2 separate regions of the Homo sapiens genome follow, and region 2 is linked to region 1. Evidence: promoter capture Hi-C in human tissues and cell types (Jung and others, 2019). All regions are on one chromosome and are shown on one strand. Each heading gives the region's core, a stretch centred on a gene start or on the middle of the fragment in contact. The rest is flanking DNA. Distances are from core to core; before and after follow the strand shown.

What was found. The method cuts DNA at HindIII sites, captures the fragments that hold promoters and counts their contacts. A contact is called where the count stands out against the background at its distance.
Region 2: a contact is called between a fragment that was not itself captured here and the fragment with the promoter of FZD1 in region 1, in 1 of the 25 tissues and cell types used here (thymus).

What each region holds. Positions count from the first base shown.
Region 1 is chr7:91,262,936-91,266,220 of GRCh38, reverse strand. FZD1 (frizzled class receptor 1) reads right to left here and starts at 1,788. Exons shown (of 1, transcript NM_003505.2): 1 at 1-1,788. The coding sequence starts at 1,340. RefSeq lists silencers at 1,044-1,103, 1,194-1,703 and an enhancer at 1,824-2,003. The HindIII fragment of the contact is 5,225 bases long and covers 1-3,285 here.
Region 2 is chr7:90,690,076-90,693,360 of GRCh38, reverse strand. All of the region lies in intron 2 of CDK14 (cyclin dependent kinase 14), which reads right to left. Among named protein-coding and RNA genes, the nearest start is that of CDK14, 95 kb to the right of the region's middle. The HindIII fragment of the contact is 3,260 bases long and covers 1-3,164 here.

The sequences.
Region 1 (3,285 bases), core at 539-3,038:
AAATACTGTGAGTTGGCTTCGATGGCCTCGTGGCCCCACTTCATGCCAGCCGCCAGGAACCAGGTGAGCGACAGGATCACCCACCAGATGGAGCTGGCCATGCTGAAGAAGTAGAGCATCATGAAGAGGATGGTGCAGCCCTCCTTCTTGGTGCCCTGCGCCACAGTGCGTGCCCCGTCCTCGGCGAACTTGTCATTACACACCACTCGGTCTTCCAGGAGGAAGCCGGCGATGTAGGCCACGGCCACGGCCGTGTAACAGCCGGACAAGAAGATGATGGGCCGCTCCGGGTAGCTGAAGCGCCGCATGTCCACCAGGTACGTAAGCACCGTGAAGAGCGTGGAGGCGCAGCACAGCACTGACCAAATGCCAATCCAGGTGCGCGAGAAGCGCAGCTCCTCGGGCCCGAAGTACATGAGCCCATACACCTTGGTCGGCTCACAAGGTGCGCCGCAGTCCTTCTCCCCCAGGAAGTGGTAGTTGAGGTAGGAGGGCACCTTGAGGGCGCGCGGGCAGGAGAACTTGCCTCGCTCCGACGCGCCGGCGCCCCCCGGGAAGCCGCCACGGTGCCCTCCGCCGCCGTGCTGAGGGTTGCTGGTCCAGAACTCTGGAAGCAGCGAGGGCGTCGGGGTGCCCTTGTCGGACGTGTTCTGGCCCACGCACAGCTCGCCGGCGCCGTGCACCGGGAACTTCTCACACTTGAGCGTGTCTGGCCACTGGAAGCCGAACTTGTTCATGAGCGCCTCGCAGCCCTGGCGCGCGCGCTCGCACAGGGAGCGGCAGGGCGGCAGCGCCTGCTCTAGCACGGTGCACACGGGCGCGTACATGGAGCACAGGAAGAACTTGAGCTCAGCGGAACACTGCACTTTCACTAGAGGGTAGAACTGGTGCACCTCCAGGCCCGCGTCCTCCTGGTTCGTGTGGCCCAGCAGGTTGGGCATGATGGTCTGGTTGTACGCGATGTCCGTGCACAGCGGGATGGAGATGGGCTGGCAATAGCCGTGGTCCGGGACGGAGATGCCCCGCTCGCCGTTGTACTGCTGCCCGCTCTGTTGCTGCTGAGGCGGCGGCGGCGGTTGCTGCCCCGGCCCGGGCCCCTGGCCTGGCCCCTGGCCCGCCGCCTGGGCCCGGACCCCCAGCAGCAGCGGAGCCTCCAGCAGCCAAAGCAGCAGCAGCAGCTGGCGCGCCAATCGCCGGGGGTCAACTGGCGGGCGGCGGCGGCCACCGGCGTCCCCGCTGCCCTCCTCCGCCAGCCGGGCCGAGAGCGCCCCGGCACAAAGTTCCCAGCTCGCGCCACCGCCGGCGGCCCGGGACTTCTTAGGCGCCTCCTCCTCAGCCATACTTTCTCGGCTCCTCTCTTGGCGCCGCTCCGCTGGGGCTGCCAGGGGCACGGCCGGCGGCGGCTCCCCCTGCGGCCAGGGAGACCTCTGCGCGGGTGCCCTCCGTCGAGCCCAAGCCGCTTTCGGCCCGCTCCCCCGGCTCCTGTTCTGCGTACCGCAGCCGCCGCCGCCGCGGAAACTTGCGATTCATGAAGCGCGGGCGGCGGGGAGAACCCGGGTGGCTAGGGCGCGCCGGGGTCGTGTCCCGCCTTCCTGGCCCTCGGCTCGCTGGCTCCCGGCTGGCGGCGCCGCGCTAGTGGCCGCGGCCCCGTAGAGAGCGCAACTCTCCGCAGCCCAGCGGGCTCGGCTCCCCCCTGCGCCTCCGCCTCCTTCTCCGCCGCCGCCGCCTGACCATTTGTGTCAATCCCTCAACTCGCTCCCTCTCCTCTGCCTCGCGCGCCCTCGGACCGGTTTCCAGGCGCCCCGTAGTCTGTCTTTCACCAGGAGGGAGGAGCCTTGAAACCGACGCAGAACTGGAGGCTCAGGGACCGTCGCCCAATCGCGGCTCCGGCTTCCCGGCGCAAAGGGAGCCGGCCGCCTCCTCGCCAGAGCGAAAGCCAGCGGCAGGAGGGCGGGGTAGGAGGAGGCGGGAGGAGGAGGAAGTAGTGGTGGTGGCACTACTCAGGCACAAAGAGTAGGATTGCTCTGAAGCGGGACAGGCTTGGTTGCTTTTGCTTTTTCAGAAGAAAAAGGCGAGGATACGTAGGAGAATGGTCCCATATGCTGCTGGAGATAATGAATAGGAGTCAGAGGACCGCGGGACTTCGCTTTTCTTTTATTTTATCCATTATCATGTTTAAAAATCCTGCTCTTAACGCTGGTTACCAACAGCAAACCGGGTTCTGCTTCCAGAACAGATGCCTTTGACTTAAGGAGCGCACGGTTTCCTTTGAGTTTGTGTCTGTCGAGGTTTTGTTTAACATATTACATTAATAAATCCTCCAGTTCGCAGGCTGGGCTTGGCGGGCTTTGGTCGCGCCATTTCCCCAGAGGAGACGTTCACGGGATCGCTGTCAAATGAAACAAAACACAAACTTTGATGGAATTTGGAAAGTAAAGCCAGATGCGCCTTCTGCTACTATCATTCTTCTTGGAGTCAAACTCCTTTTTTTCCGCCTCTTTAATCAAGTCAGAAACAGAAGCAAAAGAAAACTATCCATTAAATTTTTGGAGAGAAAAACTTAAGAACCCGACGACCGAGGCAGTGGGGGCGCCTCTCTGGGATCGTCCTCGCCGCTCCAGACCGCAGAGGTGGCGCCGGCGGGAGCTGCACTCGCCGGCAGCTTGGGCCCCTGGGGAGCCTTTCTAAACCCTGGGGACGCCCACGGCTCCGATGGGAACTCCTGGGACCTGGGCCATTTAGGTTCCACAGGCTGGGCTGCAGAGCTGGAGACGCCAGTTTAATAAACAAAACAAACAAACAGTCTGAAAGCAAACAGCGAACTGCACATTCTCTTCCTAATTCCAAAACAGCATAATCCGTCTCAACAGACGCACATTAATGTTGTTTTCCTTGTAAGATTATTTTAAATGATGGTTTGACTATGTAATTCAGTTTTATAAGAAAAGTGCCATTGGACTATTAATTCTTCCATTTTTTTTTTTTTTTTGCCTGTGATCAGACTCTATCTCAGCGTACTTTTCACCAATTACTTTCTATCATTCATTTACACATTCATTTGTTTAATAGATACCAACCACCCATTGTGCTATAAGCACTCTTAGGTCGTAGAGTATAAAATGAAGGAGACCTGTGCCAGCCTTAGAGAGGGGCATAGTACAGTGAGGCACAGAAATGCAAATCACTTGTTACAGTGTCCATCCCAAAGCCAAAAAGGCACATAGAAAGCAACCAGCTCAGATGAAATGGGGTTCTGACGGAGAGGTAGGTGCAAGGTGCAAAAGA
Region 2 (3,285 bases), core at 285-2,784, 570 kb after region 1:
TTCAAATCTGTGTTGGTATCACAGACTAGGGTCTATTCCAGATCAAGACTCATCATCAGCTTATACAACTTCTGTTCAATAAATATTTAAGTATGAAGGAGAGCAGATGTTTTAAATTTTAAAAATGACCTTTAGACATCAATCTTAATATTTACATTCCACAGAAGTATTCTCATTTTAAATACCTTTGGGAAGAATACACAGAGCAACCACTTCAAAATGGAAAAAAGCAAATATGTATAAAATCTGAAATACTTCCTATAACAGTATGAAAAAGAAACCAGGCTTTTCACACACAGGCTAAAAGACGGATTCTTTCATTCATGTGCTTCACATTTTTGTGCACCTTTTCCTAGTACATCCCACAAGCTACAGAACCCTACTGGCAAAAAGCTTTACTCCAGGGAGAATTTTTTTTTTTTTTACTTGATGGAAGAAATGGCCTGAATTTAAAGCAGTTTTTCTTTCTCATCAGACCAATGCAGTAACTTCTATGCAAAATATAATGAAAAGTGGAAGTCACCTGCCCCAGCCTCCCAAAGTGCTGGGATTACAGGCATGAACCACCACACCCAACCACAATAGCCCATTTTAGCAAATATAACAATATGTGTCATTTACTTTAAAAGTATCCTTTGGAAATAAATTATATATATAATTTATTCCTCCCCTAGTCCTGGGGCAGGAAGCAGAGAACAGGAAGACCCCATCATGGCCCGCCAGCATAGTCTCCACCAGGCAGAGCCCTCATGCATTCTTCTTAGTCCATATCATTAGTCTGCTGACAGCTGAAAAAACAAACGTGGCATGTAAATGGTTTTTGGCTCTTAAGGGATATCGGTGTACAGTATGTCAAAGCAAAGGTTGTATAGAAGTCAATATATAAAAATTAAAAACTCCTACAAGACTGATTTTCCAGAGTGGCTTATAAGCTAATTCTTTAATTAACACAAAAACAGAATTTCAAAAATATTTGGGCAACTGTGATATCATTTTGAAATAAACACACAGCCATCCAAAGTTGATAATACTTGAAAAATAAGTCCTTGGAATATAGAAATGTAATGGAATATCTGGGTATATCTGTCTGAAAACCAAACCAATATAACACACAAAAAATACGCTCTTGTCTTACAGAAAAAGAAGCATTCGATGGACCAACGATATAAGAAGAAAAGCTAGAAATACTGGTTGTCAAATATTTGCAATCAAATGTATCTTTAAAACAATTACAGATGCAAAACATATGTATTTCGCAGATTGGAGCACACCATATTTCATTTTCCTTTATTTTTTATACCTTTAAGTATAGCACACACTTGGAATAGGACAACTTATGTATGTAGAAAATGCACCTTTCCTCTCAAACTCACTCATCTGAAATAAAACTGCTTATCTCCTGCCCCACAACAATTATGAAATCAACTCCTTCACAGCACTCCCAAACCTCACTTATGGTAATTACATCCTCCAAATTATTCAGACTCAATGCCTTGATAACTCTAATTTGATATCCAATCTGTTAGCAAATACTTCTGGCTCTACCTTCAAAATGAATTAAAAATCCAACCATTTCTCAATGTCTCCAGTGCAGCCACCGTAGTTGGATGGTGGTGATGTACCATCATCTTGCAGATTATTGTAGGTGCCTCTCACTGGTTTCCTGCTACTCCCTACTGTCTTCTTCTCAGAATAGCTGAAAAAGTCATCTTTTTGAAATGGAAGCAACGTCACTTCACTCTGCCTGAAAACTTCCAATGGTTTCCCATCTCATTCAGAATAAAGGCCAATTTTACAGCAGCCTACAAGGCCCTGTGCAATGTAGCTCGTGTTTCTGAAAAATTCCTACTACTCTCCCCTTACTATTCTCCATCCACAACAGCCTCCTTGCCATTCTCTCTGCCTGAAACACCATTCTCCTGTGCAGCCTCATGGGTCACTTCTTCATGGCCTCCAAGTCTATGCCTACAAGTCATCTTTTCTGTGAAGTCTTCCCTGACCATCCTATTTAAAATGACAAACTTTCCTATACCCCCCTTCTCTTTATTTTTTTTCCACAGTACTTACCACCCTCATACAAACAAATTTTACCTGTGTCTTTATTATCTGCCTCCCTTCACGGCTAAGTTCCGGGAGGGCAGGACTGTTTTGTCCACAGTTGTACCCTCATGGTCCACAACTGAGATAAACACACACTAGATGTTCAATAAATATTTGTGAATAAAATTATTTCTCTCCATAAAACACCAAATTGTGTGACCAAACAGGGAGTATATGTTAATGTTTTTATAAAATATTTTCAAGTAATTATTACTATGAGTAAGAATAAAATAGAAAATCACAATACAAAATAAATAGAGGACTTAAGTCTGAACTGAGCACCAAGGGAATGGTGGTCACATTTCTAATTAAACTTATCATTGTTTATTCTGTTTTACTTTAATTTGCTTACTTTCTAAAGTAATCTTTGTCAAAATGAATGCTTAGAAGTATAATTGTTTTCATTCTTATTCTTTTGCTCTTACATATCATGATACAAAAATTATTTTATTACAACCATGGGGAAAATTCTCTACATTTGCTATATATCAATTTTTAAATTCATAATAATTTTATTTTAAATTAATGTATGTTGCGGCTCATAAAATGACACACAGCTAAAGGGTTCCTCATTCTGTAGCTAGAGAACGCCATCTGGCTCAATATGAGAGAAACCACACTATTATACTGAATACTGTTATAAACACAATCTTTCGTGCTTCTAAAGAAACTTCCTGCTAAGATGAAATAAATTAAGTTGTGGTATTTTATTTAATAATACTTTATAAACAAAAAGTACACAGACATAGTGAAAGAAGTTAATAGTAAAATATTGACCATAATAATGGGTATTTCTAAGTATTTTACAGGTATTGCCATATTTAAACTGTACAAGAATCCCTTGAGGAAGGCAGGTACTATTTTTAATCCCATTTTACAGATGTGAAACCTGGGGCACTAAAAAGGCCACCAAATGGAATCCTAGTAAAGCTACAATTCAAATATAGGCAGCCTGGCCCCAGAACCCACACACTTAAGTGTCACACAACCTGCCTCTTCTAAGACAGCAAACATCAAGCAAACTTACCTAATATACCTTTCAGAGCATTAAAAGTAGATTGAGGTCTGCTTTATAGGGTTTACAGTCTAAAGAAGTGAACCCTCAATTTTTGATGGTATACTACTTTATCAAAAATTATGCCTAGTACAAATGATCAGATTTTTCTAATGCAGTTTGTTAAGTAC